6 separate regions of the Homo sapiens genome follow, and all the other regions are linked to region 5. Evidence: promoter capture Hi-C in 16 types of primary human blood cells and fetal thymus (Javierre and others, 2016). All regions are on one chromosome and are shown on one strand. The core of a region is centred on a gene start or on the middle of the fragment in contact, and the rest is flanking DNA. Distances in the headings are between cores, read along the strand shown.

Region 1 (4,027 bases), core at 808-3,307, 840 kb after region 5:
CACTCCCATTCCTATTTTGAGAAATTTTAAAAATACAGAAAAGTACAAAAAATAAGACAAGATATCCCTATACCACAATCCAGAATCAATCAGTATCTTCTTATATTTACTTGAAGTCTTTTGAAAGAGAAGTGGATGTTTATATAAAAAGCTGAAGTCCCCTTTAACCAATACCCATCCCACCTCCCACACTCATTATTTTCCCTTCTCCACTCTTCACAGGTGACCACTATCAAGAGTTTGGTCTGTATCCTTCCAATCCGTTTCAAAAACATGTACATACATATATGCATCCATTACCAATAGATAGTACTGAGTTTTATGAGGAAACTTTTAATTCAAATTTACAAAAAAGTCATTGTACTATCTGTATCATTCTGCAACTTGATCCCCCCTCAACAATTCTGGGATCTTTCTGTTAATACATGTGGATTTCATTTGTTGCATTTTACAGATATATAGTATTACATAAGAATTTCCCATATTGTTCGTGATGGGCTTTCTCAGTTGTTTCTAATTTTTGGCTACTACAAATCAAGCCACAGTAAATATCCTAGTGCGTATTTCCTGAGCATTCATACTCATAAGTAGAACCGCTAAGTATTTCTCAAATTGTTCCAAGGAATGTTTCCCTATTCCCAAGGTCATATGCATTTTAGTACATAGCTTTTCCATATTTCTGTTTTTAATCTCTGGATTCACTTTTGTGTATAGTTCATGGTCTATTTTTCCCCCTTGGAGAACAAACTACCTCCACTTAAAAAAAATAGTTCCATTATTTCCTCATTTCCTGATGCCACTTGTATCATATTCCAAATTCTAATAAATGCATAGGTCTTTTTTTGAAATCTCTTCTGCTCTGCTCAATCAATACCACAGGAGTCTTAATATTAGTTGTAGATGACCATGTCATCTATTTTTGTCTGTTCCTTTCCAATATTTACAACTTAATTTTTCTTGTTACTGGCGAAGATCTCCAGATCTATGGTGGTAGCAATAAAAAACAGGCCTCCATTTTCTGTTCCCACTTTTAGTGAAAATGTGCCTAAACTTTCACCATTATCTCTGCTGCAGGTTTCTCTGTTGGACACAGGGTTTTAATCATATGCATGTCTTTCTCTTCAGTACAAATTTTCTGGTGTCCCTTAAGTTTTTAGTACTTGTTAAAGTTAACCTCATTCGTGGTGCTTTGCTTCAGAAGGATTATTTCTGGGGCATGATGAGGTGCAAATTTCTAATGAAAGCTTTCCCACTTTCAAGGCTTTCATGGGGTTTTTAGTGAGTATGAATTTTCTGGTGTCTAATGTGGTGTGACTTCTGGCTGAAAGCTTTCCCACATTCACTGCACTGATAAGGCTTCTTACCTGTGTGTATTCTCAAATGCAGAGCAAGGGTTGAGAACTGAGAGAAAGCTTTCCCACATTCATTACAACCATAGGGCTTCTCCCCTGTATGGCTTCTCACATGCACAGTGAGAGATGAGCTCTGAGAGAAGGCTTTTCCACAAACATTGCATTCGTAAGGTTTATCACCTGAATGAATCCTCACATGTACAATAAGTGATGTTCGCTGAGAGAAGGCTTTTCCACATTCGTTACATTCATAGGGTTTCTCTCCAGTGTGAATGTTCTGATGTTTTATGAGGTACTTCTTCTGGCCAAAGGCTGTTCCACATTCACTACATTTAAAAGGCTTCTCTCCAATATGGATTTTCTCATGCTCAGTAAGGTTGGATTTGCCACTGAAGGTTTTTCCACACTCCTTACATACAAAGGGCTTCTCTCCTGTGTGAGTTCTCTGGTGTCTGATGAGGTTTGACTTCTGAATGAAAGCTTTCCCGCAATCTTTACACTCAAAAGGTTTTTCTCCAGTGTGAATTTTCTGGTGCGTAAGGAGGTTTTCCTTCTGGCTAAATGATTTTCCACATTCATTACATTCGAAAAGCTTCTCGCCAGTATGGGTGTTCTGATGTTTAATGACATACTGCTTTTGGCTAAAGGCTTTTCCACACTCGTTACATTCAAAAGGTTTCTCTCTCGTGTGAAAATGCTCATGCTCAGTGAGGTTTGATTTGTGGCTGAAGACTTTTCCACATACCTTACAGGCAAAGGGGTTTTCCCCACTGTAAATTCTCTGCTGGCTGAGGTGTGACATCTGAATGGAAGCTTTCCCACATTCACAAGGTTTCTCTCCAGTAAAAATTTCTTGATGAGTGAGGATTTACTTTTGGCTGAAGATATTTCCACATCTCTTACATTTATAAGGCTTCTCTGTGTATGATCTCCCAAATGCAGAGTAAGGGATAAGGTTTGAGAGGAAATGTTATCATACTCAGTATATTCAATGCTTTCTCTCTAGAAAAATTTTCTAATATTCAATGAAGTATTGCTACCTTCACTAGTTTCTCTCCAGCATGAATTTTCTGCTTCTCAATGAGATTGTCATCTAGCTAAGGGCTTGTCAATACTCCTTAGAAGCACAGGGTTTCTCTTCAGCATGACTTGCACGTTCGACGAAATGCAACATATGAGTAACAGTTCCCCCACATTCAGTAAATTCATAGGGTTTCTCTCCAGTATGAACACTCTGGTAACAGATGAGGTACAAACGTTTTAAACCAAAGACATTTACACTTAAAGGGGGTTAATACCATAAGGAGTAAGCTGTGGTAGAGAAGCTCCCAACTAAGTCCCTTGATGATTCTTTCCTACACAACCTCCCTCATGATTTCAGTCCAGGTTGTGTTTCAAACTGAAAACTTCAAAAAGGTGTGGCCTTAAAACAAATACGATCTGAGAACAGAGGAAGTATTTTTTCTTATATTCAACGCTCTTTTTCTCAGTCTTTCCTGGAGATGGATCAACATGCCTCCCAAGTCCTGGTGCCTCTCAAGTCCTGGTGCCTCTCTATCTGTGCATCATCTTCTCAGGCTTCTTCTAAAATGGAGTACAAAGAACCATAGCACAAAGGAGTTAAATTCATAAAGTGCCCAGAACCATGGCTGCCATATGGTAAGCCCTTCATTTTACCTTTATATTACTATCACTTTTATTTGTTAATTTTCCCATTACTAGCAATAAAATTTTTTGAGATTAACTCTGGTAGCCCATCTCCCAATATGAAAATAATCTATATTATTAATGCTTCCAACTAAATTATGAGAAGGGAACCCTACTTGAGGTGATCTAGGTAGAAAATTAACATTCATGGGTCCACAAAGCTGAAAGTACTCTTGAAAAATAACCTTTCCATTTCAGAATTTAGCAAGTTGTATAACAAATAATGAAGAATTGCCAAATAGAAGAAAAAGATGAAAATTAGAAAGTCTACCTGGGATGCTAAGGAAGAAAAATAATGTTCATCTTTCTTTCTTCTTTTTTTTTTTTTGAGACGGAATTTCGCTCGTTATCCAGGCTGGAGTGCAGTGGTGCGATCTCGGCTCACTGCAGCCTCCGCCTCCTGGGTTCAAGCAATTCTCTAGCCTCAGCCTCCTGAGTAACTGGGATTACAGGTGTGCACCACCATACCTGGCTAAATAATGCTCATCTTTCTAAGAAAAGGAATAGATCAACCAACAAGTGCTTCCTCCCAAAACCCCATTAAAATTATAAGGAGAAAATGGTACAAATTCCCTTATTCAAAAGGAATAAAGGATGGTGGCTGAAAAAAAAGTGTAAGGAACAGTTGAACATGCACTGTCCAGTCACGAGAACAAAGGACTGGACACACCTTCATATGAAATGGAAGTTTATCCCCTGCAGAATTTTAATCAGAGCTCAGGGGCATTCAGCAAATGAGATGACAGGAATGAGCTGCTATACGGAAATCAGAGATTAAACCCACATATATGGTAAGACCTGCAGCACCATTCTGCAGCTGAAGACAAAAGATGCTGGCTGGCCGGGCGCAGTGGCTCACGCCTGTAATCCCAGCACGTTGGGAGGCCGAGGTGGGCGGATCACGAGGTCAGGAGATCAAGACCATCCTGGCTAACACAGTGAAACCCCATCTCTACTAAAAATACAAA
Region 2 (3,504 bases), core at 311-2,810, 660 kb after region 5:
GAATTTAGGAATGTCGCTTGATTGTGTTCATTCATAGAAGAATCTTGAGAGTGAAAATAGCCCATCGTTTTGATGAAGAACAGTTAAAGAACTGATGGGTGTTACTTATTTGTGCCACACTGTTGTTTATTTTCCCAAAACCCACTCATGTCACAGGCTTATAGAATCACAATTTTCTTAACAACTAAAAGATATTCCTTCTTCACAACTCTGTTTTTAATTCTATGTGTATGAAAATAGTTTAATTGGCTGGGCGCAGTGGCTCACGCCTGTAATCTCAACACTTGGGAGGCTGAGGTGGGCAGATCACCTGAGGTCAGAAGTTTGAGACCAACCTGGCCAATATGGTAAAACCTGTCTCTACTAAAAATAGAAAAATTAGCTGGGCACAGTGGCGCCTGCCTGTAATCCCAGCTATTTGGGAGGCTGAGGCAGAAGAATTGCTTGAACCCATGAGGCAGAGGTTGCAGTGAGCCGAGATCCTGCCATTACACTCCAGCCTGGGTGACAGAGTGAGACTCAGTCTCCAAAAAAAAAAGAAAGTCCTGGTTTAAGCTGCCAACTATATTTAGTACTATTCAGAACAGATTTTCTCCATCCCCTACCACCCAGTCATCTTCACTCTATAAGAATAAAATTTAAGTTGCCCGTAGTCTCACCATCCACAATAAATATTACTATTCTAATGTTTGCTTTTCCATTTTTTTCTGTGCACTTGTGCACATGTGTTTGTTTTCCAAAATAGAATCACAACAATTGATCATTTAAGGAGACAAAGACTCTGCAACACTTTGTTTGAAAAAGGAAAAAGAGGTTGGGCCTGGTGGCTCACGCCTGTAATTCCAGCACTTTGGGAGGCCAAGGTGGGCGGATCACCTGAGGTCAGGAGTTCCAGACCAGCCTGACTAACATGGTGAAACCCTGTCTCTACTAAAAATACAAAATTAGCCAGGCGTGGTGGTGCATGCCTGTAATCCCAGCTGCTTGGGAGGCTGAGGCATGAGGACCACTTGAACCCGGAAGGTGGAGGTTGCAGTGAGCCGAGATCTTGCCATTGCATTCCAGCCCGGGCAACAGGAGCGAAACTGTCTCAAAAAAAAAAAAAAAGTATTTAATATGATACCTTATCAAAGCAAAATTCTTGAGCTGGTTTTATGATATGGAATGGTGTCCCTTTGGAGCTACTAGGGATGGAAAGTAACAGGGGCCTTGCTCTACTTTTTGATTTCTGTGAATCCTTTTTTGATAACATTATTAAGAAGAATTACATAGGCCAGGTGCGGTGGCTCATCTCTATAATCCCAAGACTTTGGGAGGCCGAGGCAGGCAGATCACGAGGTCAGGAGATCGAGACCATCCTGGCCAACATGGTGAAACCCTGTCTGTACTAAAATACAAAAAATCAGCCGGGTGTGGTGGCATGCTCCTGCAGTCCCAGTTACTTGGGAGGCTGAGGCAGGGGAATCACTTGAACCCGGGAGGCAGAGATTGCAGTGAGCTGAGATCATGCCACTGCATTCCAGCCTGGCGACAGAGCAAGATTGTGTCTCAAAAAAAAAAAAAAAAAAGTAGAATTACATTTTCAAGCCTAGTTCTAACATTTATCAATGTTTTAAGAGCAATGCTGAAAAATCTCAAAAATCTCAAAAATCCCTTTAGAGAAAGGGACTGCTATTGAAATTGTTAAAGATAATTTATCAGCAAATACCAAATTTTTAAATTGAAAATTATTGAAGCCAGTGTGGTGGCTAACGCCTGTAATCCCAGCACTTTGGGAGGCCAAGGCGGGCGGATCACGAGGTCAGGAGATCGAGACTATGTTGGCTAACATGGTGAAACCCCGTCTCTACTAAAAATACAAAAAATTAGCCGGGCGTGGTGGCGGGCACCTGTAGTCCCAGCTACTCGGGAGGCTGAGGCAGACGATTGGCCTGAACCCGGGAGGTGGAACTTGCAGTGAGCCGAGATCTTGCCACTGCACTCCAGCCTGGGTAACAGAGCGAGACTGCATCTCAAAAAAAAAAAAAAAAAATTATTGAAGATAATTTTTAAAATAGTGGAATGAGGGGTATGTGATGTTTTTCACTGAATTTAGTGCTTACAGTAAGCCATTTTAAGTGCTTTATGTATTATGTTCTTAACCTTCACAACAACCCTATAAGGTAGGTACTGTTTATTCCTTAGTTTATATCTGAGGAAACTGAGACACTGAAAATTAATGCGTCCAAATTCTCACAGTTAATAATTCTCAGAGCTCTGTTCATATCCTGAATCTTGATAACAAAGCCTGTATTTTTAATAACTGAGAGTCTGCCACCTCCCAACATTGTACATATTCTTTTAGTCTGACTCCCATAGCTAGTAATTTATCATGAATATCTTCCTTCTTTAATTAATGTGGGCCAATGCCATCATTAATAATTGCATAATGTGCTATAATATAGTAGAACATCATTTATTCAACTTGTTGCCTACTGTTAGGTATTTGATTTCAGGTTGTCGTAAATTATTCTTTTTTTTTTGAGACAGAATCTCACTCTGTTGCCCACGCTGAAGTGCAGTGGTGCAATCTCAGCTCACTGCAACCTCCGCCTCCCAGATTCAAGTGATTCTCCTGCCTCAGCCTCCCAAGTAGCTGGGATTACAGGTGTCTGCCACCACGCCCAGCTTATTTTTGTATTATTGGTAGAGATGGAGTTTCGTCATGTTGGCGAGGCTAGTCTCAAACTGCTGACCTCAAGTGATCTGCCCACCTCGGCCTCCCAAAGTGTTGGTTACAGGCATGAGCCACTATGCCTGGCCAATAAATTATTCTTTGATGAACTCTCTTGCAATACATCTTTGTATACTTTTACAAATATTTCCTAACGATAAATTCCTAAAAGTGGAATTTCTGGGTTGAATTATGAGACATTTATAAAGTACTCACAATATGCCAGATCCTGTGCCAGTCCTTGGGGGAAATACAGTGACCAAAATGACATGGTTGATATCCTTACATTGTTTGTTGTCTTTCAAGGTAGATAAGCCTATGCAAGAATAACACTGAGATAGGTGAGGTAAAGTCATTGAAGAATTCAGGTGGCATGGCTTGAGAGGTCATGGGAAGCAGACAGCTGATTGTAGCAAGCATTGTCAGGTCACGACCAAATAATACCAAACTCATGGGGTTCCTGTGGGGTAATGGATTTTATGTAATAAGCATGTGCCTTATAGTTTTTATTTTCATGATGTTGATGCAAATGAACAGCACAAGAAGATTCAGCAGCTCCTAGGTGGGCCTCATGGCTAAAACAACTCTTTCAGAAACAAAACAAAAGCTTGGTCAAGAAGTCATGAGAAGTAGCAGCAGTGAAACAAGGCATTAATTGAAGATGTTTAGCCATGTTTATATAGGCAGAACTCTGACATACATGAACACACTTAGAAATCATAGAGTCAGTTCAGATTTTGGGAGCTGAAATCAACAAAACCAGTAAAAACATAGAAGCTGCTTGTAGGATA
Region 3 (3,821 bases), core at 869-3,368, 640 kb before region 5:
CTGCTCCTGGCTGATTTGCATATTCTTAATGATTAATATAGAACATGTTTTCAAGTATTTAGTAGCCATGTGTATACTTTTTTTTTTTTTTTGAGAAATGCTTATTCAGTTACTTTGCCCATTTTTGTTGGGCTTTTTATTATTGAGTTGCAAGACTTCTTTATATATTCTAGATACAAATCCCTTATTGGATACATAATTTACAAACAATTTTTCTCACTCTTTGGGTAGCTTCTCACATTCTTGGTGGGTTTTGAAGCACAATGTTTTACAATTTATGTCCAATTTCCTTTTTTGATGTTGTTGCTTGTGATTCTGATGTCACGGTTAAGAAACAATTGCTGACTATAAAGTCCAGAAGATTTATGCCTACATTTCCTTCTAAATGTTCTACTGTTTTAAGTCTTACACCTAGGTGTTTGATCCATTTTGAGTTGATTTTGTATATGGTGAGAGGCAGGGAACTCAATTCATTCCTTTCTATGTGCATCTCTAATTCCAGTCTTTTCAACAAAGACTACTCTTCCCTTCCTTAAAATGCCTTGGTATCCTTGTTGAAAATAGTATGTGGAGCCGGGCGCAGTAGCTCATGCCTATAATCCCAGCACTTTGGGAGGCCAAGGCGGGCAGATCATCTGAGGTTGGGAGTTCGAGACCAGCCTGACCAACATGGTAAAACCCTGTCTCTACTAAAAATACAAAATTAGCTGGGCATGGTGATGCATGCCTGTAATTCCAGCTACTCAGGAGGCTGAGGCAGGAAAATCGCTTGAACCTGGGAGGTGGAGGTTGCAGTGAGCCAAGATCGTGCCATTGCACTCCAGCCTGGGCAACTAGAGCAAAACTCCGTCTCAAAAAGAGAAAAAAGAAAAAGAAAATAATATGTGGAGTCAATTTAATCCATTGATCTATGTGTGGTATTTCTGAGAGATTATTCAGGAGATTCAGGAGCAACAAATCCAAGAACTAATTAAGAGAAGAAAAAGTGATCAATAAGTTCTTAAATTGTAACTTTAATAGTTTTTTTTCCTTGACTATTTGTATTTTTGAATGGTGATTTTTTAGTTTTGTTCCTTTTCCTCTTAGGGTATAGACAAATATTTTTTATTTTTAAATTAATTTTACTTATTTATTTTTTGAGACAAGGTCTTGCTCTGTTGCTCAGGCCAGAGTGCGGTGACACCATCATACCTCACTGAAGCCTGAACTTCCGGGCTCAACTGATCCTCCTACCTTTGTCTTTGGAATAGCTGGGCCCACAGGCGTGTGCCACCACACCAGGCTAACTTTCATTTTTGGTAGAGTTTGGGAGGAGGAGAGGGGTGTCTCACTATGTTTCTTAGGCTGGTTTTGAACTTCTGGCCTCAACTGATCCTCCTGCCTTGGCCTCCGAAAATGCTGGGATTAAAGGCGTGAGCCACCGTGCCCAGCCTGTATTCATCAATATTTTATTAAGCCAAAGAAACAGGAAATTCGGACTATTAAATATTTGTCCGTTTTAGCTGTTGTAAATATTTCCCCCAAATTTACTTACCTAAAAATTTTTCTTATTCGTTTTTTACCATTTGGAAATTTTGGATGCTTCTAAATAACTATGAAGATTTACAAAGTATTACATGAAGGATCAAAAAAATTTTTTAAATTTCTTATTTTATCTTCAAGAAGCCTATTCCAGAACAAAAATAATAAAACTATTTAGCAGTTATTTCTTCAGATGATTTTTTAGTCAAATTTTTAGTCAAATATATTCGTGTCCAAAGATGAAGAACATAATGTCATGTATTGAAGAATGTGATGGAACTTCAAACCCTCATATAGGACGTGAGTCCATTTACTTAGCGCTTGACGAGACAAGCTGGGCCTGTCGGGTGGTATTAAAAGTCCCAGTCCCATGTGTTACCAAGGAGGCCGGCTCTACCTCAGGAGCCATGAGGGTTTCGGCGCCCCACCCTGAGGAGCTCACACCCATCCAGCAGGTGATCCCTTCCGAGGCTACCTGGATCAGTTTCTACTCAGACTCGCCTCCTACTGGCCCTAAGAACGCACTAACTCCACCCTAAGCCTCAGGCCAGGGGCCCAGTAGTGGCCGATCTGCGCATGCGCACTCGAGGCAAGGCGGCCACTCCCAGAAGTCTCCGGGGCTCGAGCGGTGGGTGGGAGGCGCGGTCCAAGTGGTCGCTGCCGTATTTCTCGTAGGTTTTTAGGATTCTGGACTCCATTTCTCACCGGTACCTGCGGTCCTGACTGTTCTGGCTTGGACTACATATTACAAAGGCAACGGAGAAAACTTGGACCCCTGGCTCCGGTTCCGGGACCTTTTGGTTCCACCTGAAGAAGGCGGCGCAGGTCACTGCGGGAGCCTCTGCAGCCCCAGCCCGCCGCCCGCGTGGTACCCTGCGTGGCGGTGAGAGTGGGGCTGCAGGAGGCGCTCAGAGCGCGGAGGCCCCCAGGCGGGCCGGGCGAGTCTCCCGCCTCCTCAGGCCCTAGGGTGCTGGAGCTGCGGAGGAGGGGCCCGTCTCTAGGAGACAGGCGGGGAGCGTGAGAGACCGCGCAGCGGCGACAGGACCGGCTTGCCTGTGTGACGTGGGTGCAGTTGCGGGACTGTGAGGGGTGCGTAGTCGACCTTGTGTGACCTGTACATGCCGTGTGTGTCCTTTGTAAAGCGTGCTTCGCTGGGCTCTGTGGGGTCTATTGACCCTTGGCTCCAGGTTCCCTGCTGCTTCCTGTGCCTTCCTCAGCCTAGTACGACTACAACAGAGAAATGGTCCCAATGGGAAATCAGATACTGAGTCTTAGATGAAGATTTCCAGTGAGAAGAAACAGATAGGATGAGAAGCTTAGAAGAGTAATTGCCCTTAAGAAAGGTATGATAGATTCTGTTAAATAAAAAAGTATTCAGTGACACTTGTTAAAGCATGCAAAGAACCCTTTATTCAGGACCATGGTGGTAGGTATTGGGATCCCGGCTGTGAGATTTTGCAGTGGGTAACAGACATTGGGCTCAACTCCGAATTCAGCATGAACAAGTGGGAATTTATAGCCAAGAAGGTTAGGGATCACTGGATGAGAAATTACTAAGAGGAAATGTCTGGGTTAAGGAAGATTCTGACTAAACGCACCTAACAGGATTATTTCTGGAGAGAGAGACCTGGGGGACGGTGGAGGATGAAGATACGGAGGCGAAAGGGTCTTGCTAAACTGACTTAGAATAGTTCTTTGCTATAGCCAGATTTTACAGTGAAGTGTACAGATGGGCCTAGCTGAAGGTGTAGTAGCCTGACTAAAATTTGGTCTGGCAGGGTTTGTCAGTTTCGAGTGTAGGATTCCCTCCTGAAAAGGGTTGTTACTCCGCCCCCACCTCCCGGTTCTTGGAGTTTCATTTACATGTTTAACAAACACGGCCTTGAATTCTGACCCCAAGAACCTGCAGTGAAGGATGATTGCAGGTTCCATCCAACATACTTCCTTCTGGTCGTGTGTATGAAATTACGCGCCTGCAGCCTTGGAGGGGGGAAACATAAGCGCTAAGTATTATGAGGCAATTTTGGATATTCCGTTTTGGATTTCTGTAGATCAAAAGCAACAAGAATATGAACTTAGCCGTGATGTGAAGGAAGTGAGCCAGAATTTAAGTTTTCCAAAATAGGAATTCTCGGTCATTGGTGTACTGTCTGTAGACCAATGCCCTTATGGGCATAAGGGACATCACAAACCCCCTGAAATTCTATAAAGAATTCCTGTACATGTTTGTTAATTTGCATTTTTCTAGGATGTCCATAATCCAAATTATTTAGACTCAGGTTTTAGATCTGGAATCAAAG
Region 4 (3,567 bases), core at 585-3,084, 750 kb after region 5:
CCACTGCACTCCAGCCTGGGTGACAGAATGAGACTCCCTCTCAAAAAAAAAATTTTTTTTTTAGGTATTGATCATTTTAGGTATTAAACATTTATAACCTGACCTCAAGTTATCTGCCTGCCTCGACCTCCCAAAGTGCTGGGATTATAGGCATAAGCCACCAATTCTGGCCTCTTTTTCTCTCCAATTCTGAAGCTTCACCACAAAGCAGTCAGAAACCAGGGACAGTAAGCCAGGAAATGAGGAAAAGAACTGAAAAGGCAGAAGCCATCCATATTTTATTTCCTCCTCTGCCATCTTACCACACTCCTTCCCCTTCCCCCACAGCATGGCTGAACTAAGGGAGAGCAGAACCCTCATCTGTAAAAAATGCTTAAGGTTTCTTTTTCTTTCCCTCCCTCCCTCCCTTCCCTTCTGTGGGGAAAAGAGAGATCAGACTGTTACTGTGTCTATGTAGAAAGAAGTAGACATAAGAGATTCCATTTTGTTCTGTACTAAGAAAAATTCTTCTGCCTTGAGATGCTGTTAATCTGTAACCCTAGCCCCAACCCTGTGCTCACAGAGACATGTGCTGTGTTGACTCAAGGTTCAATGGATTTAGGGCTATGCTTTGTTAAAAAAGTGCTTGAAGATAATATGCTTGTTAAAAGTCATCACCATTCTCTAATCTCAAGTACCCAGGGACACAATACACTGCGGAAGGCCGCAGGGACCTCTGTCTAGGAAAGCCAGGTATTGTCCAAGATTTCTCCCCATGTGATAGCCTGAGATATGGCCTCATGGGAAGGGTAAGACCTGACTGTCCCCCAGCCCGACATCCCCCAGCCCGACACCCGAAAAGGGTCTGTGCTGAGGAGGATTAGTAAAAGAGGAAGGCCTCTTTGCAGTTGAGGTAAGAGGAAGGCATCTGTCTCCTGCTCGTCCCTGGGCAATAGAATGTCTTGGTGTAAAACCCGATTGTATGTTCTACTTACTGAGATAGGAGAAAACATCCTTAGGGCTGGAGGTGAGACACGCTGGCGGCAATACTGCTCTTTAATGCACCGAGATGTTTGTATAAGTGCACATCAAGGCACAGCACCTTTCCTTAAACTTATTTATGACACAGAGACCTTTGTTCACGTTTTCCTGCTGACCCTCTCCCCACTATTACCCTATTGGCCTGCCACATCCCCCTCTCCGAGATGGTAGAGATAATGATCAATAAATACTGAGGGAACTCAGAGACCAGTGTCCCTGTAGGTCCTCCGTGTGCTGAGCGCCGGTCCCTTGGGCTCACTTTTCTTTCTCTATACTTTGTCTCTGTGTCTCTTTCTTTTCTCAGTCTCTCGTTCCACCTGACGAGAAATACCCACAGGTGTGGAGGGGCAGGCCACCCCTTCAATAATTTACTAGCCTGTTCGCTGACAACAAGACTGGTGGTGCAGAAGGTTGGGTCTTGGTGTTCACCGGGTGGCAGGCATGGGCCAGGTGGGAGGGTCTCCAGCGCCTGGTGCAAATCTCCAAGAAAGTGCAGGAAACAGCACCAAGGGTGATTGTAAATTTTGATTTGGCGCGGCAGGTAGCCATTCCAGCGCAAAAATGCGCAGGAAAGCTTTTGCTGTGCTTGTAGGCAGGTAGGCCCCAAGCACTTCTTATTGGCTAATGTGGAGGGAACCTGCACATCCATTGGCTGAAATCTCCGTCTATTTGAGGCTGACTGAGCGCGTTCCTTTCTTCTGTGTTGCCTGGAAACGGACTGTCTGCCTAGTAACATCTGATCACGTTTCCCATTGGCCGCCGTTTCCGGAAGCCCGCCCTCCCATTTCCGGAAGCCTGGCGCAAGGTTGGTCTGCAGGTGGCCTCCAGGTGCAAAGTGGGAAGTGTGAGTCCTCAGTCTTGGGCTATTCGGCCACGTGCCTGCCGGACATGGGACGCTGGAGGGTCAGCAGCGTGGAGTCCTGGCCTTTTGCGTCCACGGGTGGGAAATTGGCCATTGCCACGGCGGGAACTGGGACTCAGGCTGCCCCCCGGCCGTTTCTCATCCGTCCACCGGACTCGTGGGCGCTCGCACTGGCGCTGATGTAGTTTCCTGACCTCTGACCCGTATTGTCTCCAGATTAAAGGTAAAAACGGGGCTTTTTCAGCCCACTCGGGTAAAACGCCTTTTGATTTCTAGGCAGGTGTTTTGTTGCACGCCTGGGAGGGAGTGACCCGCAGGTTGAGGTTTATTAAAATACATTCCTGGTTTATGTTATGTTTATAATAAAGCACCCCAACCTTTACAAAATCTCACTTTTTGCCAGTTGTATTATTTAGTGGACTGTCTCTGATAAGGACAGCCAGTTAAAATGGAATTTTGTTGTTGCTAATTAAACCAATTTTTAGTTTTGGTGTTTGTCCTAATAGCAACAACTTCTCAGGCTTTATAAAACCATATTTCTTGGGGGAAATTTCTGTGTAAGGCACAGCGAGTTAGTTTGGAATTGTTTTAAAGGAAGTAAGTTCCTGGTTTTGATATCTTAGTAGTGTAATGCCCAACCTGGTTTTTACTAACCCTGTTTTTAGACTCTCCCTTTCCTTAAATCACCTAGCCTTGTTTCCACCTGAATTGACTCTCCCTTAGCTAAGAGCGCCAGATGGACTCCATCTTGGCTCTTTCACTGGCAGCCCCTTCCTCAAGGACTTAACTTGTGCAAGCTGACTCCCAGCACATCCAAGAATGCAATTAACTGTTAAGATACTGTGGCAAGCTATATCCGCAGTTCCGAGGAATTCATCCGATTGATTATGCCCAAAAGCCCCGCGTCTATCACCTTGTAATAATCTTAAAGCCCCTGCACCTGGAACTATTAACTTTCCTGTAACCATTTATCCTTTTAACTTTTTTGCTTACTTTATTTCTGTAAAATTGTTTTAACTAGACCTCCCCTCCCCTTTCTAAACCAAAGTATAAAAGAAGATCTAGCCCCTTCTTCAGAGCGGAGAGAATTTTGAGCATTAGCCATCTCTTGGCGGCCAGCTAAATAAATGGACTTTTAATTTGTCTCAAAGTGTGGCGTTTTCTCTAACTCGCTCAGGTACGACATTTGGAGGCCCCAGCGAGAAACGTCACCGGGAGAAACGTCACCGGGCGAGAGCCGGGCCCGCTGTGTGCTCCCCCGGAAGGACAGCCAGCTTGTAGGGGGGAGTGCCACCTGAAAAAAAAATTTCCAGGTCCCCAAAGGGTGACCGTCTTCCGGAGGACAGCGGATCGACTACCATGTGGGTGCCCACAAAAATTCCACCTCTGAGTCCTCAACTGCTGACCCCGGGGTCAGGTAGGTCAGATTTGACTTTGGTTCTGGCAGAGGGAAGCGACCCTGATGAGGGTGTCCCTCTTTTGACTCTGCCCATTTCTCTAGGATGCTAGAGGGTAGAGCCCTGGTTTTCTGTTAGACGCCTCTGTGTCTCTGTCTGGGAGGGAAGTGGCCCTGACAGGGGCCATCCCTTGAGTCAGTCCACATCCCAGGATGCTGGGGGACTGAGTCCTGGTTTCTGGCAGACTGGTCTCTCTCTCTCTCTTTTTCTATCTCTAATCTTTCCTTG
Region 5 (3,944 bases), core at 836-3,335:
CTCTCAATCTACCAAAAATTGCCTTGCCCCTCTATCATTTGAGAAGGCAAGAAATTTCAAAAAGAAAACAAAAATGTCTATGTCCTGTAATAACAAAGGTATTTCAGGAAACAAAGAGGAAATACTCACCTTGGACATTGCTACTGAAACAGCCATTCTTTCTCCTCTGGGCTCTACTCTCAGAAAAAGAAAAATGGAATGAGATATTAGGCCTTTCTTGGGGAATATGCTAAATTATAACATACCCTCTTCCTCCATCCTCTTAATCTCATTTAACATAAAGAAAAGTCAGGAGGAGACTAGAATAAGTCTTCTACCTTCTGTATCAGAAAGAAGGGCCAGGTCACAGCTGTCTTGGGCTTGAATTTATTTCTGTATTCAAAGCTGTACACTGGAGACAGTCCTGCAGTGGGGTGCTTCAGGTTCAGAACTGGGTGGCTGTCTCCTAAAGCACTCCCTCTGAAACTATTCCCACTCCTGGAGTCCCATTATATTTCCAGTGGCCTATTTATTTATTTATTTAGAGAATGAGTTTCACTCTTGTTGCCCAGGCTGGAGTGCAGTGGCTTGATCTTGGCTCACTGCAACCTCCGCCTCCCGGGTTCAAGCAATTCTCCTGCCTCAGCCTCCTAAGTAGCTGGGATTACAGGCATGCGCCACCACGCCCAGCTAATTTTGTATTTTTAGTAGAGGTCATGGTGAAACCATGACCTCAGGTAATCCACCCGCCTCTGCCTCCCAAAGCGCTGGGATTACAGATGTGAGCCACCGCGCACAGCATCCAGTGGCTGTCTTGAAGGTATTATCAGCCCTAAAATTCTCATCCTAAGACCAGGTCTGTAACTTGCAAATAACTCCTATTCATCACTCAGGTGTCCAAATGTCTGACTTCCTTACTTCTTGCCACTTCCCTGCACCCAATCCCCTTAAGGCTATAAGGCAAGAGGACGCAGGGAAGAAGTCGTGAACTCGTAAGTAACTACATTTCCCAAGGTGAACCGAGGATGGATACAGAAATGAAGCAATACAGGCCATGGATGAAAGGGCAGCCACTGTGGTCAAATCAAAAAGTCCTTAAGTCCTCAGAGCCACATGGGAGGAGCACAGAGCCACATGGGACTCACAATCCATAGGCAGACCTCAGCCCCAAATGAACCCCAGAAATACCAAAAAGAAATTTACTTCTGTACTGGACTAAACCCCCATAAGGTCACAGAATATACAAATGGCCACATAAAGTCACACATAATCACATTTCCACAGTTACACAGCTAGAGGCACAATCACCCAATTATGCTACATTGTTAGACCACCTTGTCTCAAACAAAATCCCATTAAGTACAAGGCATATAATTACATCCAAGCACCTTGTCAGAGACACATACCGCCAAAAACACCCTTTCAAAGCTGCAATTTTAGTCTCTTTACACAGTCATGAAAACAGCACACACAACCCCACAGTCACACACAATCAGACAGTCACCCAACCCAGTACGAAATCAGGGAAACACGCGGTAATAAACACCGTGTCACAGCAACACTGTCACACACCTTAAATTTACTGGCAAATCCATCCCACGATATCAGGTTTACACACAACCTCAAAGTGACACAAGAACATCCAAACACTCTTGTCACAACTGTCACACACTTCATAGTCACAGGCAAACCCCAATTATACACGCGGCACACATAAAATCACAGTCACATAAGTATATCCCAGCCAGGTAAGCAAACAGTCACAAACACCCTCAGAGTCACAACTCACACTCATACAAATGCTCATACACAAAACCACAGCCACACACGTCCAGTCGTGTATGCACAGGCAGTCGCCAATACCAGGCAGGCTGTAGCCTGCACACAAAACCGGAGACACGGCCACACGAGTAACCCCAGCGACGCTTTCTCCGCGCGTGTCCGCTCCGGCATCCCGGACACTCCTACCTTGACAGAGGTGCAGTTCAGGGTCCAAGATCTGGCTCCCGGGTTCCAAGCCCAATTTCGGGTTCGCCAGCCCAGCAGGTGCGGAGCCAAGCTCCTCCACAGACGCGGCCCTCTCCCCACGCGAGGCCTCCAAATCTCGCAAACTAACGGAAATGAAGCTACGCTCCGGGAGCGGTGCCTCTGGGAAATGTAGTCCAGCGCTCCGGACGCCGTGCCTCTGGGAAATGTAGTCCAGCGCTTGGCTAGCCGGCCAGAACGCCAGGAGGCCCGGGCCGCTCACCCCTCGAGGGGCTCGTGGGCTCGGCCTGTGGAACCTGCTTGTCCCGCCTGCAGCGCCCCGGAGGTTTCTGGGAGTGCCCGCCCGCCCGCGCTCAGTGCGCAGGCGTCAGACGCTCAGGGCCTGCGAGAGCGAGCTGAGTGGTCCCAGGGTCTACCCCTGGCAGGAGAGAGGGTGGGACCCGCCGGCCAGGCAGGTGCGGGGGAGGAGCTGGGGCCGGTGCGGGGACCCGCCGGAACCTCGGATTTGCAGAGGACCCTGTGTGTGCCCTCCCAGGCCCTTGGGGTGTGTGTGACAATGGGAGATGCCAGGTGGACTGAGAGTCTTTCCGTGGCCGGGTGTGTATGGTTGTGTTTCTGCCTGTGTGTGATTCTTCCTGCTGTGGGGTGTGAGGTGATTTGTACTTTAAGCTGCGTAGTAATGGGATTTTATAACTGTGTAGAATCGTCTAACAGAGTAAGACGATTTTACACAGATCTCTATTGTGGTTTGCTTATGAAGGGTATCTGTATGTATATCTGCTTTTTTGTGTGTGGCCGTAATTGAGTAACTGGTGATCTGTGTTATATAAACGTGCTTTCTTTGTGCTTGTATTTCAGTGTCTGTAAGGGTGCCAAGAGCAAATGAGCTGTGTGTGATCGTGTGTGACAGTGAAAATACTATGGCCAAGTTATTTCTTCCTTAAATAGTAATGTAATAATCTGGAAAAGATAATCAATTTATCTGACAAGTAATTTAGACATCATTTTTCTATTGGATCAAATATATGTGTTATCGGGAAGAATCCAAAATTAACGTAGTTTTTTCTTTGTTTTTAGAAAGATTATTTCAAAACCAGTCCTAGGGTAACTGCCTTTTCCTCTGCCACAGCAGGCCAAAAGTAGATATCCATTATTTTCTAATTAGAGGGTAAAGTTTCTCTTATTACTGGGTACGGTTGAGAGGCCATCAACTAATAAAATAATAAAACAACGTTATACATAAGAAGAGTGAATTTTAGCACAGTACAGCACTAGTCAGATTTCCCAAATTCTAGGTCAAACACTTGTCCTCATTTTCTGATGAGAAAACCTTGGCCGGCAGAAAGTAACTTAAGGCTGTAGAGTTTGTTGGTAAACCTGAACTTATTTTTACTTACTTCAAGACCTCTTGGCCTTTTATGATTTTTGAATAATCAAAAACTTGTGAACTTCCAGCACAGAGAAGATAGAGTATAATTTCACCACTCCTTCAGAGGGAAAAAAATTAATAAAACTTGGTCTTGCAAGACCATATATCAAATACATTGATCTCTTACCGGTAATGTGACTGGAATAGCAAATTTGGTGATCAGAATTCTTGAGGGAATGAACCTGTGTGTGTGATCAGGCATAGCTATGTGAAATATAGATAATTAAATTGCACTGAGTTAGAGTGGGTCAAAGTCAGGCAAGAATTATGTCCAATTCACATGCACACGTATGTTTATTGCGGCACTATTCACGATAGCAAAGACTTGGAACCAACCCAAATGTCCATCAATGATAGACTGGATTAAGAAAATGTGGCACATATACATCATGGAATACTATGCAGCCATAAAAAAGGATGAGTTCATGTCCTTTATAGGGACATGGATAAAGCTGGAAACCATCATTCTTAGCAAACTATCGCAAGGACAGAAAACCAAACACCACATGTTCTCACTCATAGGTGGGAATTGAACAATGAGAACACTTGG
Region 6 (3,990 bases), core at 824-3,323, 700 kb after region 5:
CTAGTGTCAGAAGGCCTCAAAACTTAGTCAAAACGAGGCCAGGTGTAGTGGCTCAAGCCTGTAATCCCAGCACTTTGGGAGGCTGAGGCAGGCGGATCACTTGAGGCCAGGAGTTTGAGACCAGCCTGGCCAACGTGGTGAAACCCCGTCTCCACTAAAAATACAAAAAATTAGCTGGGCGTGGTGGTGGGCACCTGTCATTTCAGCTACTCAGGAGGCTGAGGCAGGAGAATCCCTTGAACCTGGGAGGCTGAGGTTGCAGTGAGACAGTATTGTGCCACCACACTCCAGGTAGGGTGACAGAACAAGACTTTGTTTCAAAAAAAAAAAAACTTAGTCAAAACAGAGAATATGGAGGAGCTATTTTAATAATTCTTTTTATTGTTTTTTTAATGGAGTGTTGATTTCCTTACATAAATTTAATTGTAAACATGTACATAGGACCGTGATTTTGAATTAAAAAAATACTTTGGGCCTTCGGCCTTCTTAGTAGTTTTTTTTGTTTTGTTTTGTTTTCGTTTTTGTTTTGATACGGCGTCTTGCTCTGTCGCCCAGGCTGGAGTGCAGCTGCACGATCTTGGCTCACTGCAACCTCCGTCTCCCTGGTTCAAGCGATTCTTCTGCCTCAGCCTCCCGAGTAGCTGGGACTACAGGTGTGCGTCACCATGCCCAGCTAAATTTTTTTGTATTTTTAGTAGAGACGGGGTTTCACCATGTTGGCCAGGCTGGTCTCAAACCCCTGACCTCAGGTGATCCACCCGCCTCGGCCCCCCGAAAGTGATGGGATTATAGGCGTCAGCCACCGCGTCTGGCCACCTTCTTAGTAGTTATAAAGTAGCTCAGATTTTTCATTTATCTCCTATTTCATGCATATCCTATTGTTTGCAAAATGAAACCAGATTGCCGAGGCATTTTCAAATATCTTCTAAAGTTTTATATTCTTAAGGAAAGAACAAATTCTTTCATGTATTAACTAATATATCAAAGAATTTGGGATACAGAAGATGCCTCAGGGTGGTCCCTGGTGGGCTTATCCCATTTCTTTCCTGAAGGAACGCAGGACAGGACAAATTCAGTCTCATTGGAGACAGACCTCTCCAGTTAGTCTTTTTCTTTTGAAACGGAGTTTCGCTCTTGTTGCCCAAGCTGGGGTGCAATGGCGGATCTCAGCTCAATGCAACCTCCGCTTCCCGGGTTCAAGCGATTTTCCTGCCTCAGCCTCCTGAGTAGCTGGGATTACAGGCGCGCGCGACCACGCCCGGCTAATTTTTTGTATTTTTAGTAGAACAATACATTCACAACTGCAGGAGATACGAGACACACACACACACACACACACACACACACACACACACACACACAGAGACAGAGACAGAGTGGGAGAAAGGGAGAGGGCAGTGAGCACGAGCGACCTTTCTAGGTTTACGTCCTGCTCCAGGTTCTGGTGGGCTTTGAGAGTATTTTCATTGCATGCCTGATGTGTGCCCACACCTTGCTTGGGTGTATGCAGTGAGTAACTGGTAGGTGTTTAGTACACATATTAGGCATCTGCTGGTGCCAAAACTTCTTTCTAAATCCTCCGCGGCTGAGCCTGGTGGCTCACGCCTGTAGTCCCAGCACTTTGGGAGGCTCAGGCGGGAGGATCTTTTAAGCCCAGGAGTTCGACACCGGCTTGGGTAACATAGGGAGATCTGGTCTCTATAAAAACTTAAAAAATGAGTTGGGCGTGGTGGCGCGCGCCTGCAGTCCCAGCTACTCTGGAGGCTCGGGTGGGAGGGTCGCTTGAGCCCGGGAGGTCGCGGCTGCAGTGAGCTCTAATCACGCCACTGCACTCCAGCCTGGGCGACAGAGTAAGACCCTGTCTCAAGAAAATAAACAAATAAAAGTCTTCCTCAGCGACAAAAGCAAACGCAAGCCCGAGCTCGCCTCAGCCCCACGCAGCGCGGAGGGCCTTCCCGCCCCGAGCGCACCCGGGGCTCCGGCCCCCGCGCATGCGCACTCCGCGCAGCCCGTTGGGGCTGGAACCAGTCCCTCCCATCGGCGGACTACATTTCCCACAGGCCTCCGCTCGCAGTTCTTTCCGGCTTCGCTGCTGGTGTCGGCTCCGAGAGGTGAGTTGGTCGCTTGCACCGAGGCAATGGGCGCGGGGGTGGCGCGGGGGCGGCGCAGACCTCAGTGTGAGCCAGGAGGCAGTAGCTGTGGAGTTTGTGGCGCTGACTGGGCGCCGGGTGCCCTGTTGCGTCCTCTGCCTTCTCGCTTCAGAGCCGCCCAGGTCCAGCGGCCCGGAATGGCTCCGAGTTAGATACAGGAACCCCGGAGTGAATGAAGGCCCCCAAACAAAAAGACGCAGTCTGAAGAACTGCAGATTGCACAGCTTTACCCGAGCTCCCTCCCATGGAAACTGCGGGGAACTCGGAGACAGATCCCAGCCCCGTCTTCGTGTACCTGGCCTTTCGCTCTGATACGGGAAAGGGTCAGCTTTATTCCAGGCTCCCTGTTATTTCCATCGGGTTTTGCGCGCAGTAGACGGAGGGAGCAAGTGCGCTAGCGGGGGTGTGTCCTGCTCAGCCAAGGCCGGCTCCAGGAAAGGCCCGCGGTCTCAAGATTCCCGTCTCCTTTCCCAATCCTGCTGTTCTTTAGGAAGGCAGCGGGGAGAGGAGGAAATGATTGCTGTTGCATATAGACAAGTCAACATCCAGATGAGTTTGTGTTTCCGTTTTGTTCCATGAAGTGTAATTTTTATTTTTTCTGGGCGTGGGGGCATTTGCTTTCCTCTTCTGTGGAATGAAAATCAGCTCGGACTGAACAATGAAGCAGCTCTGTCATTAATCAGGCTAGGAAGGAAGAGACAGATAAAGCCAGTTGCAAAATTAATAGAAAACATGATTTCTCCCCAGGTGGTGCAGTAGTTGTAAAATGGCATAATGACTCCCTCTTTGAGAGATTACAGTTTTCTTACCAGTGATGTTCTAGACTTGCTTTGCTGTTTTCATTTTATTACTGGGGATACCCTCTTGATTACACTCATGATTGCATTCAATATCTCATTAATCCCTGCCTCTCCTAATCTCACCTCGGAAACAGCAGCCATTCCAGATTGCAGCTGTCATTAGATCCTCCTTAGAATCTTTCAGCTGGAACTCAACCGTTTACGAAAGAGCTTTTCTCGTCTCTCTCGTCCATTCTATTCCAACCCTTCCTGTGGAATTTTCTCCCTTTCTGCCAGTCAATAGATATGATTTTGTCAGACTATGCGGGCTTGTTCCAGTTAATCTTCAGCTAGTTAGACTTTAACCCCTGAAATGTCCTGTCCACTGACCTGGTGCTTTGGCCTTCCTTCCCAGTGAATGATGGGGTGATGAAGGTAGATTCCAATTCCTACCCCTTTCCAGTAGGTTTGTTTTGTTTTGTTTTTTTTTGTATTTTTTGAGATGGAGTCTGGGTCTGTTACCCAGGCTGGAGTGCAGTGGCACGATGTGCTCACTGAAACCTCCGCCTCCCGGGTTCAAGCAGGATTCTCCTGCTTCAGCCTGCCAAGTAGCTAGAACTACAGGGATGAGCCACCGCACCCGGCCTCCAGTAGGTATTGACATGAGCATTTGGCAGTAATTTAGTTTCTCTTATGAGCTGCCTCTTTCTAATCATTTGGATGGTCTGGAAGTAAACCTCCTGAAGAGAAGCTAACTGCAGAGCTTTATTTTGTTACTTAAGTTTTTTTTTTTTTTTTAGAGACAGGGTCTCACTCTGTCCCTCAGGCTGGAGTGCAGTGAAGTGATCTCGCTCCCTGCAGCCTGGACCTCCCTGGCTCAAGCGATCCTTCCACCTCAGCCTCTTGAGTAGCTGAGACCACAGGCACGTGGTCCCACGCGCAATTTTTAAATTTTTTTGTAGAAATGAGGTCTCCTTATGTTGCACAGGCTGATCTTGAACTCCTGGAGTCAAGGAATTCTTCCACCTCAGCCTCCCAAAGTGTTGAGATTACAGGCGTGA

Evidence for each region. Contacts are between HindIII fragments. The CHiCAGO score rates a contact against its expected background, and 5 or more counts as called.
Region 1: a contact is called between a fragment that was not itself captured here and the fragment with the promoter of ZNF420 in region 5, in 3 of 17 cell types (fetal thymus, naive CD4 T cells and M0 macrophages). The highest score is 6.3, in fetal thymus.
Region 2: a fragment that was not itself captured here is called in contact with the fragment with the promoter of ZNF420 in region 5 in 2 of 17 cell types (activated CD4 T cells and naive CD4 T cells); the score reaches 6.6 in activated CD4 T cells.
Region 3: a contact is called between the fragment with the promoter of ZNF607 here and the fragment with the promoter of ZNF420 in region 5, in 1 of 17 cell types (M2 macrophages). The highest score is 6.2, in M2 macrophages.
Region 4: a contact is called between the fragment with the promoter of LINC00665 here and the fragment with the promoter of ZNF420 in region 5, in 4 of 17 cell types (total CD4 T cells, total CD8 T cells, M0 macrophages and 1 more). The highest score is 7.3, in total CD4 T cells.
Region 6: a contact is called between the fragment with the promoter of ZFP14 here and the fragment with the promoter of ZNF420 in region 5, in 13 of 17 cell types (fetal thymus, naive CD8 T cells, total CD8 T cells and 10 more). The highest score is 16.0, in fetal thymus.

What each region holds. Positions count from the first base shown.
Region 1 is chr19:36,234,568-36,238,594 of GRCh38, reverse strand. It overlaps ZNF146 (zinc finger protein 146), which reads right to left. Exons shown (of 4, transcript NM_007145.3): 4 at 1-2,936. The coding sequence starts at 2,154. The coding sequence ends at 1,276. It overlaps LOC107985304 (a long non-coding RNA gene), which reads left to right and starts at 2,843. Exons shown (of 2, transcript XR_001753933.3): 1 at 2,843-3,011. It also overlaps a transcript of ZNF565 not described here. RefSeq lists a silencer at 2,021-2,221 and an enhancer at 4,019-4,027. The HindIII fragment of the contact is 221 bases long and covers 1,947-2,167 here.
Region 2 is chr19:36,412,429-36,415,932 of GRCh38, reverse strand. All of the region lies in intron 1 of ZFP82 (ZFP82 zinc finger protein), which reads left to right. Among named protein-coding and RNA genes, the nearest start is that of ZFP82, 4.5 kb to the left of the region's middle. The HindIII fragment of the contact is 3,525 bases long and covers 1-3,322 here.
Region 3 is chr19:37,718,058-37,721,878 of GRCh38, reverse strand. ZNF607 (zinc finger protein 607) reads left to right here and starts at 2,118. Exons shown (of 5, transcript NM_032689.5): 1 at 2,118-2,610. RefSeq lists silencers at 2,357-2,466, 2,527-2,616. The HindIII fragment of the contact is 3,190 bases long and covers 1-2,838 here.
Region 4 is chr19:36,329,985-36,333,551 of GRCh38, reverse strand. LINC00665 (long intergenic non-protein coding RNA 665) reads left to right here and starts at 1,834. Exons shown (of 6, transcript NR_038279.1): 1 at 1,834-2,105; 2 at 3,060-3,299. The HindIII fragment of the contact is 13,687 bases long and covers 1,597-3,567 here.
Region 5 is chr19:37,076,574-37,080,517 of GRCh38, reverse strand. It overlaps ZNF420 (zinc finger protein 420), which reads right to left and starts at 2,085. Exons shown (of 5, transcript NM_144689.5): 1 at 1,948-2,085; 2 at 130-173. LOC105372390 (a long non-coding RNA gene) reads left to right here and starts at 2,321. Exons shown (of 2, transcript XR_001754095.2): 1 at 2,321-2,420. RefSeq lists an enhancer at 2,010-2,249 and a silencer at 2,340-2,629. The HindIII fragment of the contact is 14,557 bases long and covers 1-3,944 here.
Region 6 is chr19:36,377,284-36,381,273 of GRCh38, reverse strand. It overlaps ZFP14 (ZFP14 zinc finger protein), which reads left to right and starts at 2,073. Exons shown (of 5, transcript NM_020917.3): 1 at 2,073-2,111. RefSeq lists a silencer at 1,877-1,966. The HindIII fragment of the contact is 12,200 bases long and covers 1-3,990 here.